Regions from separate parts of the Homo sapiens genome. Here region 1 is linked to region 2. Evidence: promoter capture Hi-C in human tissues and cell types (Jung and others, 2019). All regions are on one chromosome and are shown on one strand. Each heading gives the region's core, a stretch centred on a gene start or on the middle of the fragment in contact. The rest is flanking DNA. Distances are from core to core; before and after follow the strand shown. Region 1 overlaps ARID1A (AT-rich interaction domain 1A). Region 2 holds the start of SH3BGRL3 (SH3 domain binding glutamate rich protein like 3).

Region 1 (6,224 bases), core at 9-2,508, 500 kb before region 2:
GTTGGGTTCTCATCCAGAAAGGAGGTAGTGTGGTATATTAAGAAAAGCATGATCCTTGGAGTCAGGTGGAACTTGCTTGGTGTATGAACTTAAAAAGCCTTTCACTTTTCTTAGCCTCTTTCTTCAACTGTAAAATGGGAGCCACATACTGACTTCACAGGCACAGGATTGTTGTAGGATTGTGATGTGCTATGTCCAGAATATAAGTAGGTACACAATAGAAAACTGTTGTTTCTTGTTTCAAATTTCACTTCTAAGTGTCCACAATGATAGCATTTTTTCTCTTTCTGCTTCTGATTTCTCCTGAGGAACTTGAGGCTTCTCTATTGTTTCCCTAAGGAAGGGGGTGAACAGAGAAACTATATATTGTGACATTAGCCTCATAAAAGCAACTGCATCTAGCCAACATCGACAGTATCATTCAACTACTACTTAAGTAGATGCTATGTGCCAGTCTATGTGTTAGCACCAGGATGCAGCAGTGAACAAAACACCCCTCCCACCACCCTCAGTTTACATTTCAGTGGAAGGTGACAGGTAAGTACAACACACAACAGGCCAGACAGTAACAAGTGCCACAGGAAAAATAAGGCAGACAAGGGAAACATAGTGGGGGGCAGAGATTGCTATTCTAAGTAAGGTGACCATGAAAAGCCTTACTTATATATTTGGACAAAGACTTGAAGCAGTCGAGGACTTGAGCCATGCAGTTATTTGGTGAGAGAGTATAAAGTACAAAGACTCCAAGGTGGAAACATCTCTATACAGTGGGGTGAGCAACGGGCAAGACAGATGGTGCAGGAAAGGTAGAGGTAAGCTAGATAACTCAGGGCCTTGTAGGCCACTTTTTAAGAGTCTGGATTTTTACTTACTGAGTCAGAAGCACTGAAGGCGTTTGATCTGACTTACCTTTTATAGGGGTCCTTTTGGTTGCTCTGTTGAGAATAGGTTCAACCAGGCAAAGCAGAAGCAGGGAGGCCAATTTGGAGGTATTTCAAGAATCCAAGATATGACAGTATCTTGAACTACAGTAGTGTGGGATTGAGGATTATTTTATGAAGAGTGCTAACAGATTGGATGTGGAAGTGAAAGAAGTCAAGGATTTTTTTAGCCAAGTGATAGAATGGAGTTGCCATTTACTAAAAGGAAAACACAAACAAAAAAACCAAAACTATGGGAGAAGCAGGTTTCTAGTGGGGGAAGACAGGACATTTTAGCTTTGGCATGTTCAAAGTAAACTTCCAAGCAGGGATGACAAGAAAGGTGGCTGAATGCTCTAGTCTGGAGTCAGGGAAAAGAGCCAGTCCAGAGATATTATAAGTGATTAAGTTGGAGATTGCCTCCAGATAAATGGTTGTCTTATTTTGGAATATAGTAAATAAATGACAGGGTCCAGGAATGCCACTATTTAGGGGAGATCTCACACTAAGGGAGGTTTGCAAAAACAGGACTATCCCCCTGCCCCCCGACAAAAGGTCAAGTTTTAGTTTGAAAACAATAAAAAGCTTCACAAAAGTCTTACCAAGATTTAATGTACATTTATTCTTAACACGTGGAACATATAGTATAAAGATTTCATACTGAATAAATGATATTCATTAAGCCAAAAAAGGAAAAAAAGGAGGAATTTACATCAAGTTTTAGCTACATTGTTGAAATACAAATATGCAGATTTTATCACTGAAAAAATCTCAATTGTGTTTCTTCATCAGAACTTCAACTGAACCTAGAACTTTTTCACACCTCGATTAGAAAGAAAACAAAACAAAACAAAAACCCAGAAAAAAATAAACTATAAGTTGATTGGCTGCTGAGACAGCAAGGACTTTTTACAGAGACCTGTACAGCATCGCACCAAGAGGGGCGATATCTGGCAAGAGATTAAATAGCTGTGTCTCGCTTTGTGCAGGTCACCAACTTGTTAACTCGTCATACTATAAAGGGGTAGCTGGGAGGAGGACCAAACTGTGGGGATCCAAGGGTATGTGCAATGTACAACGTCATATATATACACACGTGGCAGCGTAGCCGCTGCAGCTAAAGGTTAAAACCAGTTCTAAGAGGTGATCTCAGGGTTATTCATACAATCAAGGAGGAGAGAAAGAGGTCAGGGTGTTGTAGGTTCACACATGATACTTTGGGGGAAAAGCCTTTTTTTTTTTTCTCCTCAACGTTTAACTAAAAACATTTTTAAAAACTACAGCTTGCTGCTGACCCAGCGTTTTCTGTTTCCATGTGAGACATTATTATTACAGTATGTTTACAGTATCAGGTGTACAGTACAGTACATGAAAGGGTCTACACTCTACTGCACAGGCCTCTCCAGTGAACAGGGTCTGTTCACAACTGCGAACTTCTTGGCTCCTGCAAGATTGTGAATGTACAACAATAAACCACACACAGTTCAGCAGTCACCTTTTTTGTCCTTCAGAATTTTTTTTTGTATTTTTTTTTTTTTTTTTTACCATTAAAAACAGTTATGAAATGTGGCATCCCGTTGATGCAAGGACTGGGAAAGCCATTTTTATTTTATTTTTTTTCCCCAAACTCACTGTAAACAACAGTAACTTTGGTTAAAATAAAAAAAGTCTTCTATGTAGGCAGAGCTTTGTCTTTTCAAAGAGGGTGGGGTAGGGTCCTGAGGGGAGTAAGGTGAGGACAAGGAACAGAAAGGCGTGAGGTGATGGAGGGAGGGGAGGTGGAAGGAGGAGAGAGAAACAGGAGAGACTTTTTCCCAAGGGAGAAGCTGGACAGCACAGGGTAAACTGGATTCTGAGGTGGTTTTGCATAAATAAAGGGCAACAGTCAGTTTCTAAGTTCTCCACACACGCACACACACACGGGGGGGGGAGGTGTCCCACGGCTGTCATGACTGGCCAATCAAAAACAGTACATCACAAATGACTTGTGAAACCAATGAGTTCATCAACGGTGATACCGAGATGTCCAACAGCCGTGATTCGTACAGAGTAAACTCTGAGTGGTTCTCGTCCACCTTGGCCAAGGCAAGCAGCGCGCGGGCAGCCCGCCGCATCATGTCCACACTAGTTGGCTCAAAGGGTGGGTTCTGCATGTGGAGGAGGCTGGCCTGGCTCTGCTGGAACTGTGTGGCGGCAAGGCTGTCCTCTAGGAAGCCCAGGAGGTTGCCGATACTGCCCTTCTGCACTGCAATGGCACGAGCTGCCAGGCTGTCCCCCTGAGCCAGGTTGGCCAGCAGTACCACAGCCATCTCCCGGCACACCGGGTTCTTTCGGTCACTGAGGAAGCGCACCATAGTGCTATACAACTTCTCCAGGCGGCTGAAGGGGGGTGTGGCCAGAATCAGGTCCACATTGTTGTCCTGGATGCTGAGTTTGCTGAGGGTTTCCAAGACCAGTCTCTGCGGGGAAAGGACGGCATTGGGGCCCAGGGTGGAAAAGGGGTCCTGGGCTTCAGCTGAAGGGCAAACTGCCCAGTGTAGGAGTCCGTCCAGGACAGGCAGGCAAATGCTCTCGGGGTATGGAGATAGGTCCAACTGCCCCGAGATGTTGGCGAGTGTAACCAAGGTGTTTTCCCGGAGCATCTCCAAGCAGTCCCACCACCACTCCACTTTGTTGCAGCTCACCCCTTGGTCCTGTTCCTCCTCCTTTTCATAAGTTAGTGGTGCCTGCTTCCGTTCTGGGTGCTTGTGGTGCAGCAGGATCAGCTTGCCCAGGATGAGCAGCAGCCCTGGGTGTTTGGACATCTCAAAGTCATTGCCTGGCACAAATGACAGGCTTCGAATGGTATTGGACACACAGACGCAGCGCTTGGCAAGAGAATCCTGCCAGTCCAGAAGGGTACACAGTGGGGTCTCATCCTTACTGTGGGGTTCGTCCTCTAGGATCTTGATGTTCCGGTGGCTCTGTGCTGGGCTAATGCCAAATGGAAACTTGCTGCTCTCCTTGATGGCCTCTGAACTCTTAGCTCCATCCTCGGTCAAGGTGCTAGACCGAGTAGACAACATGTCATCCATAGTGGCTGTGATCCGTTTTTCTGGAGGTCCATCAGGTGGGGGCCCCTCCTGGTCTGTTGTCCCTGGTGTACCCTCTGCTGTTGTCACATGCTTCCGAGGGGCTGGTGGGCAGGGTGCGTGAGGCCGGGAAGGCAGCAGCTCTGTCTTGCTCTCGAAGTGGGTCTGGATATGCTCAGTGGTGTCCCCCCCACCAATCCGCCAGTGCAGCAGGCCACTGTCAAACTCCTGCACACGCCCAAGCTTATCTGAGCAGTCCACCACAAATGGATCATTCTTCTGTACGATCTTTACTGGAAGCTTGTCAAACTTACTGATCAGCTTCTCCTCACTATTCTCTGAAGCTGGCTTGTCCTTGCCTGAAAAGGCTATCTCCTCATCATTTTCAACTACTTCCTCTTCTTCTTCCTCTTCTAGTTTAGGACCTAGAAGTTCTTCTTCTTCTTCCCCACCCTCCATGGGAGCTGGACTAGACACCTTGCTGAACCTCCCAGGATCCAGTAGCGTTCTCTGTCCTGGGTCACCCACCTCATACTCCTTTAAAATGCCAAAGATCTCAATCAGGCATCGTCGGAAATATTCTACAAGGAGCTCTAGCAACCCTGGGAGCTAAAAAGAGAAAGAACAGGAAATAAATTAAGGGAGAAAAGTGGCCTAAGAACAGAATTATTGACTTGAGAGACCTCCCCAAGTCTTCTGTATCAGTTGGGAGAGGCAGAGTTGCTCCTTTCCCAAAGGTTCTCCACAGAGCAAATTGTTCATCTTAATCTCTTCTATGCCCAACACAAAGTTCTTTCTTCTGCCCAACCTACCTTCACGTAAGCCTATCTCCAGGAACACTAGCCAACAGCTTTGCACCTCACCCACCAGGGCCAATCATCTCTTAGCCTTCTCTTTTCCCAATTAATCTTCTGCTTTTCTTCACCAGGCCAGTTTTCAACCTGGTGGTCATTGCCATTATCTCTTTTAGGACACTCTCTCCATCTCACTGCCAAGTGGAACCCAAGCTTAGGCATGGTGACTTAAGCTAAGAGAAGAGAATGCCATGTGGGCAGATGTTCATGGCTCTCTTCTCCAAGCTCCCCACAAGTCCAGGGGGCTGGAACTCCATGGATCTTGCAGCATAAGGAGTGGGACGAGGCTTCAGCTCTCCAAACACTGGTCCAAGCTGGTGCTACAGAGACCCAAATTCCACCTTGGATAATATATAGGCCATTTATTTACCTCTAGAAGAAAACACTCCTCTCCAGTCACAATCTTTGGCTGAACAGTAGAGCAGATGGAAAAAAAAATAAGGGCTTTCGAATTAGATCTAGGGGCTGGAAGCAGTGGCTCACACCTGTAATCCCAACACTTTTTTTTTTTTTTGAGATGAAGTCTCACTCTGTCATCCAGGCTGGAGTACAGTGGTGTGATCTCAGTTGGCTGCAGCCTCCGCCTCCTGGGTTCAAGCGATTTTTCTCCTGCCTTAGCCTCCCAAGTAGCTGGGATTACAGGCGCCTGCCACCACATCGGGCTAGTGTGTGAGAGTGTGTGTGTGTGTATTTTTTTTTTTTTTTTTTTGAGACAGAGTCCCGCTCTGTTGCCCAGGCTGGAGTGCAGTGGCACGATCTCAGCTCACTGCAACCTCTGCCTCCTGGGTTCAAAGTGATTCTTCTGCCTCTGCCTCCCAAGTAGCTGGGATTAGAGGTGTGTGCCACCAGGCCCGGCTAATTTTTATATTTTTGGTGGAGATGGAGTTTCACCATATTGGCCAGGATGGTCTTGAACTCCTAACCTCAAGTGATCCACCCACCTTGGCCTCCCAAAGTGCTAGGATTACTGGCGTGAGCCACTGCGCCCAGCCTAATTTTTATAGTTTTAGTAGAGATGGAGTTTCACCATGTTGGCCAGCTGGCCTCAAACTCCTGACCTCAAATGATCCTCCTGCCTCGGCCTCCTGAAGTGCTGGGATTACAGGCGTGAGCCACTGCACCCAGCCAGTAATCCCAACACTTTGGAAGGTTGAAGTGGGAGAATCACTTGAGCCTAGGAGTTTGAGACCAGCCTGGGCAACACAGTGAGACCCTGCCTCTATAAAAAAATAAAGAAGTTATCCGGGGCCTGGAACGGTGGCTCACACCTGTAATCCTAGTACTTTGAGAGGCTGAGGTAGGTCAATCACTTGAGCCCAGGAGTTTGAAATCAGCCTGGGCAACATGGTGAAGCCTCATCTCTCAAAAAAAAAAAAAAA
Region 2 (6,254 bases), core at 1,876-4,375:
GGGGTGGGCTTCCAGCCTGATCATCGTCTGTGTGGGGTTCTGTCTCCATTAGACTGAAACGGGGGGTTACCTGGGGGGAACCATGGGGCTGCCTCCCAGAACCTTCTTCCCCTTCCATTGCCTCTCCTCTGGCCTTGGTTTATACAGAACACCCCCTCCCGCTTTGCTCACTGGTCTCATCTGTCCCTGGTCAAGGAAGTGTCCCTCTAAGGTTTGTGGGGATGACTCAAATGGGGCCTAGGGCTCTGTCCACCCTCCACTGATACCTTCCAGAACTGCTGCCCATTGCCTGCCCGGATCCAGGAGATTGTGGTGGAGACGCCCACCTTGGCCGCTGAGCGAGAGAGGTGAGGGCGGGATGAGGAGGTGAGGGCCTGGGGGCGTTGGGTCACCGCGTGCTGATGGCCTCTGGGCTGTGCAGGAGCCAGGAGTCACCCAACACGCCGGCACCCCCGCTCTCCATGCTGCGCATCAAGTCTGAGAATGGGGAACAGGCCTTCCTACTGATGATGCAGCCTGACAACACCATTGGGGACGTGCGAGCTCTGCTAGCGCAGGCCAGGTGGGTGCAGGGCAGGGCCAGGGCCACAGAGGGGCTCTGGTCCCACTGCCCAGCCTGATCTGCTCTGCCTGGTCCCCAGGGTCATGGATGCCTCTGCCTTTGAGATCTTCAGCACATTCCCGCCCACCCTCTACCAGGACGATACACTCACGCTGCAGGCTGCAGGCCTTGTGCCCAAAGCAGCACTGCTGCTGCGGGCACGCCGAGCCCCGAAGTCCAGCCTGAAATTCAGTCCTGGTCCCTGTCCCGGTCCCGGTCCCGGCCCCAGTCCCGGTCCCGGTCCCGGCCCCAGTCCCGGTCCCGGTCCCGGCCCCAGTCCCTGTCCTGGACCCAGTCCCAGCCCCCAATAAAGCACCCGCCCCCTCAACCCGCTGCTCCGCCAGGCTCTTGGGTGGGCCATCTCGCCAGGCACGTAGGAAAGGCCTGGGACCAGCTGGGCCAGGGAGGGGGCGGTGCCGACCCGCCCCTTGGTAACTCGAGCCCCGGCTGGCGGGCCTGGCTGCTGGGTCTTTGTCTTCTAGGTTCCTCTTTCTCCCAAGAAGGGCTAAGTGGATCCTGTGAAGGGAGGGATGCAGTGGGGGGAAGGAGCTGGCCCCAGCTGGGTTTACATTCTCAGCTGGGACAGCAGAGCCTCACTGTGTATGTGTGCAGCCAGCAGATACCTGTGCACAGGCACAGACCCACCAACTCGTGGGGACACTTCAACACCGCACAAAGCCATTTTGCCACTAGACCCATGCCCCCAAATTAGCAGAACTGCAGCTGGGTACCCACCTCCCATGATACACTCATTCTTAGCCATTGTGCTCCAACACAGGCGCATGGGATGGCCACACTCACTGACAGGCATGGAGATGTGCACTACACACCAAGGCACAAGCATGATATGGACACATGCATGTGAACTGGAGGGTGGCCCACCCAGACATCTCCAGAAACCACTGGTCCATACAGGTATTTGTGTGTCAGACATATCCAAACACATGCACTAACAAACACAGAGGTGACAGTCACAAGAGAACAGCTCAGCCACCCTTCCCACAGAGCAGTCTCAGCACAGTCACAACTACCAACCTTGCCCAGGGCAGGGACCCAGGAGGCCCAGGCCACAACCAACCAGACACAGTGCCAATGGAACAGGACATCATTTAATTGCCTCTAGGGTCCTCCTGGGAGAGGGACTGCGGGGCCTTTGGCAGAGCTCTGGCTGATGGAACCAACAGAGGTGCCCATCAGCCAGTGCCAGGCAGGATGGCGGCCCCAATGCTTGGCTGGGGGCAGCCAGCATTTGGGGCTGTTGCTTAAGACAATTTCTGAGACTAATGGGTAAGGAATGTTGCCTTTAGATGGAGGAGAGGGGACTACATTTAGAGAGGAGGGAGGAGAAGTGGCCTGCATTGGGGGAGGGACTCTAAGGTTAGGTTAGGAATGACAGGGAGTTGGTCAAAAGGTCCTTCATGGCCAGGTGAAGGCTGGGGGGAGTGTGGTGATGGAGTCCAGCAGGGGAACTCTGGACAGGCTTGACTCAAGCCAGCTTCAGGAACTCCTGCAGCGTGTTTTGTTCCACAGCCTCCACGAAGAGCTCATAGTCCTGGAGAAGGGGAGGCGAGGGGTGGTCACCTGAATGCAGGGGGCCCAAGTGCTTTGTGGCAGATATGACCCTGGCTAGAGTCCTCTTCCAACACTCCCCCCACCCCCCCGTCCCCCAGCCCATACCCCACAGTACTGGTCCCCGTTGACAATCTGGGGTGGGGTGGCCTTGGGGTTGCCTGCCAAGGCTCGCATCTCATCCCTCAGGGCGTTGTCCTGGGAGATGTCCACTAGCTGGTATTGGATGCGCTTCCCATCCAGGATTCGGGTCACCTCGCTCTGCTGGGACTTGATCTGGGGACAGAGGGTGGGTAGGGGTTAGTGGATAGGCTGGAGGATTTATGGGGGAAATGCTGGGCAGGGTGAGAGAGGCTGTGACCAGGAGCTTTTGTCCCCCCATTCCCCTCCACACTAGGGGAGGGTTCTGGCCTCTAGGAGTTGGGAGGATGAGTCAGGCTTGAGGTGGTGCAGGATGAAGAGAGGGATTATCAGCCACGGGGGAGGGGGTCAGAGTGAAGGGAAGTGGGATCAGGCTCAGGGTGGGGAGGGGAGGGGAGGGCAGGCTGCGGTCGTGGTCAGGGTCAGCCCGGTAGTGGGAGTGCAGAGAATGGGTGTGGGGTTGATGGGGGATGGGCACGGGAAGTTCATGCCGCGGCTGCAAAGGACCCAGGATGCCCGATGAAGACATTCAGGATGGGGCCTCGGGACCGGGTCCGGGAGACCGTGCCCAGCACCTCGCCGACGCACTCCCCCCACCCCGCCCCCGTCCTGGGGGTGGGTCCCGGGCGCTAGGGTCCAAAGCACCGGGATACAGCCCTGCGCTTTCCCCCAGCGCCAGTCCGGGCGCGCACTTACTTCGCGGGAGCCGGTGACCGACGTGCTGTAGACGCGCAGGCCGCTCATGCTGGGGGTAGACAGACGGGCCGGCGGGCAGAGGGCGGCGGTAGCGGCAGCTGCACTGCCGGGAGACGACGCCGCCGCCGTGCTCGGGAGCGGTTTCCTTCCTGCTCCGCCCGCCAAGTCATCGCGCTCGGGACCAATGGGCGGCGCGGGCAGGCGGGGTGGGACCTGCGCGACACCGCCCCGCACGCCAGAGGCCCCTTCCCTTCCCCCTCGGTTACCAGGCGCGCAACGGACCCGTCCCACGCAGGGCGCCCCTTCTGCGGCTGCCCTGATCGTCCTTTTCGGCCCTTCCCTGATCTGGAGCTCAGTGTGAGACTGGGGAGGGGCCTGGGTGGCAGGACAGGCCCGGGAGAGGGTCTGGCAGAAGCCTCCCTCTCCAGCCGCACACAGGTTTGGTGCATCCAACTCCCCAGCCACGAGAGCCGCTCTCTCCAGGAGGAGGTGCTCTAATAGCACAGGGAAGCTTGGGGCTTTGGAAGGTTTGAGCTGCTTTCAGACCCAAAGTTCTCTAAGAACCTTGCTCCAAGGGATCCCTCGCTCCACCACCCAACACGCACCACTAACCCTAGGGGATAGGAAGCATAGGACAGCAGGAAGAGCCCATGCTTAGAGATTTTCCCCCAAGTTCCTCTCCACTCAGGTGGGAAGGTTTAGACAAGGAAGGGTGATAGCAGGACGCAGAGGCCACACCCTCAAGGAACCAGATGGAGACCAAGGCTGACAGCTGGAAAGCGTGGCGGTAGAGGATGATGTCAGGACTCGAGAGCCTAGGCTCAAGCTGACCCTTAAGATCCACCCCAGGTCTTGGGGTGGTCCAAGCTCAACCCCAGCTCCATGCTGCAGATGGCATTCCCAAACTGCTACTACTCCCAGCAAGAATTCAGCGGTTGAGGGGGCAGACTCCAGCAACGAGCCCAACTTTGGAGACCTAGCTGTCTGGCACTCAACATCATGCTTCTCAGATGTCCCCCTGGTCCAGGGCTCAGGCAGGTTAACAGCCCAGAAAGACAACCCTTGCTCTGGTAAAGCCACTTCCTCACAGCAACCCAGAGGCTGCCAACTTCCTGAGAGGACTGCTGAAACTTTCCAGTGACAAACTTCTGTTATGACTCAGGGAAGGTTTGCCCAAGAGAAAGTGAGTGGGAAGAGATCTGGTTCTATAGAACGACAGAGGAGCAGAGGTGGCAGAGATAGATAGGGACATGAGGCTGGCTGGACCTGCCAAAGGTTCCTCCACGCTGCTGCCTGGGGGACCTGGCTGAACACCCAGGTGTTTGGCTCTAACAAGCCAAAGTGAGGGGTAGAATAGCGTGGTGGTGGTGATGGAAGGGTATGGAAAACTGAGGAGTCTGTTAAGATACTTTATTTTATAATCAAAATACGCAATACAAACAAATGGACATAACAAAGATTCATATAAATAACTGGTTATAAACTTTATGAGGAAAAATACCCGTCAGCATGGTGGCTGGGCTCCCAATGCACAGGGTGGAGACCAACCAGGCGGCTCTGCCTTTAAGCAGCAGGAGCCCAGAGGCTGAAGGGCTGGCTGGGTGGGGCTGCTCTGAATGGAAGGGATAAGTCACTCCATAAATAAAACACAAACTTGTAAAAACACTTAAGAAAGAGCCTCATTCAGGCCCAGGCATGAGGTCCAAGATGCTGCCAACAGCCCAAAGCTTAGCAAAAATCTTGTAGTGGCTGACTGGCCCACACGTGGCCCCTGCCTGGCCTGGCTCCAGATCTAGAGGAGGCACGGCTGGCCCAACAACCAGATACTAACAAGTGTGAGATGCTCCCTAAACCAGGAGGCAAGAAAAACCAGAGGGCAAAGGTCCCTCACTAAAGCCCCAGAGAAACAACCCAGGAAACACTAAAAGCTGTACTTTAAAGCTGACTTGTACTGGGTACTCTGAACTTTCAAGGAGGCCAGAGCAGGAAAGGGAAAGGAATAACCCCCACCACCCCCAACACAAGAGAGGCACAAATTAGAGGGCTGGGCACAGGCTGTAGCCCTGGGTGAGGGGGTAAGCAGCTTGACAGTTGCTCTGTGGTCTCTGGGATATAATTCTGCCCAAGGCTAGAACCACAGAGAAGAGTTTGCACTCTTAAGTCCAGGAAGGGGACTACCTGGAAGGCCTGAGAACAAAGGAGAAAGTTTAGCACACTAAACACATGGCCAGGACCCTAGGGACACAAGGCAGCTGGAGAGTGGGATCTCTTGTTAAATGGCATGGTAGGCAGATTAGAGTCCTGGCTATAATCCCTAGGGCCCCAATCCTAGTAGTTACGTGCTAACCAACACATTACCCTGAGGCTTCTGGGAGAACAAGAGCCCTGAGGAAGAAGCAGTAAGACCAGGCATGAGAAAACCCAGAAAGCCAGCTCAGTTCCCAAGAAGGCTGGCACATGGGGCCTGAGAATTCTTAAATGGCCATTGTCACTGGTACTTGCTCAGCCTTTCCAGGCCCCTCTGATGAGCTCTCTAATCAGCAGGACCAAGGTGTGAAGTGGGAATGAACATGGATCCATCCCATTGGATGGAGAAGAAAGGTGGACAGCCTGTTCGTCTCTCATGTCAGCCTAGGGCTGGGAACAGTTTGTGAGGACTTATCTGTTGTACCTGCCAAAAGTTAATTAGTAACTCACCGTCTAGAGTGAATTAACAGGACAAACGTAATCCAACATGCCAGTGTGGGTAGGACACAGTTCCCTAATCAGCCCTTGGCCCCCAGATGCAGGCTCTCCCCTCCCCTCTGAGACCTCTCTGGGAATAGCAGACAAGAGAATGTCAGGGCAGAAACCTGCTGGACTAGGCTCTCAGCAGCCCAGCTCCTCCCTGGGGGAATCCCCCAGAATTCCTCACTGTGTGACACAGTTTTCTCCCATGTCCTGGGCATATCTGTCTGACATGGTGGTCCTTAAGTCCTCAATGTCACGACGCAGCTGTTGAACCTCTTCTAGTTTCCTCTTGATCACATCTGGCTTCTGCAAATCTAGCTGAGTCTCTGGGTGCTGTGCTGCTGGGGAGAAGAGCATTTCAAGAGAATGTTAGTTATGAGACATTTTCATGTGGAGGGTGCAGTATGGATAGGCAGTATCTTGAACCCACAGTCTTGGGACATGCACTTTAAAAAAAGCATCTGGGGACAGTGGGTTAATTTGCTGCTGAAGGTCCACTTTTAGTTTGTCCTGCATG

What was found. The method cuts DNA at HindIII sites, captures the fragments that hold promoters and counts their contacts. A contact is called where the count stands out against the background at its distance.
Region 1: a fragment that was not itself captured here is called in contact with the fragment with the promoter of SH3BGRL3 in region 2 in 2 of the 25 tissues and cell types used here (dorsolateral prefrontal cortex and hippocampus).

What each region holds. Positions count from the first base shown.
Region 1 is chr1:26,777,399-26,783,622 of GRCh38, reverse strand. ARID1A (AT-rich interaction domain 1A) reads right to left here. Exons shown (of 20, transcript NM_006015.6): 20 at 1,519-4,600. The coding sequence ends at 2,867. Among named protein-coding and RNA genes, the nearest start is that of PIGV, 7.4 kb to the left of the region's middle. The HindIII fragment of the contact is 6,774 bases long and covers 1-4,645 here.
Region 2 is chr1:26,276,957-26,283,210 of GRCh38, reverse strand. SH3BGRL3 (SH3 domain binding glutamate rich protein like 3) reads right to left here and starts at 3,125. Exons shown (of 3, transcript NM_031286.4): 1 at 3,008-3,125; 2 at 2,279-2,446; 3 at 1,689-2,153. The coding sequence starts at 3,055. The coding sequence ends at 2,088. CEP85 (centrosomal protein 85) reads right to left here. Exons shown (of 14, transcript NM_001319944.2): 14 at 4,403-6,075. The coding sequence ends at 5,918. UBXN11 (UBX domain protein 11) reads left to right here. Exons shown (of 15, transcript NM_001389556.1): 13 at 274-347; 14 at 422-562; 15 at 642-929. The coding sequence ends at 912. RefSeq lists enhancers at 1,830-2,716, 2,717-3,604, 6,155-6,254 and silencers at 2,844-3,293, 2,770-3,341. The HindIII fragment of the contact is 5,211 bases long and covers 1,692-6,254 here.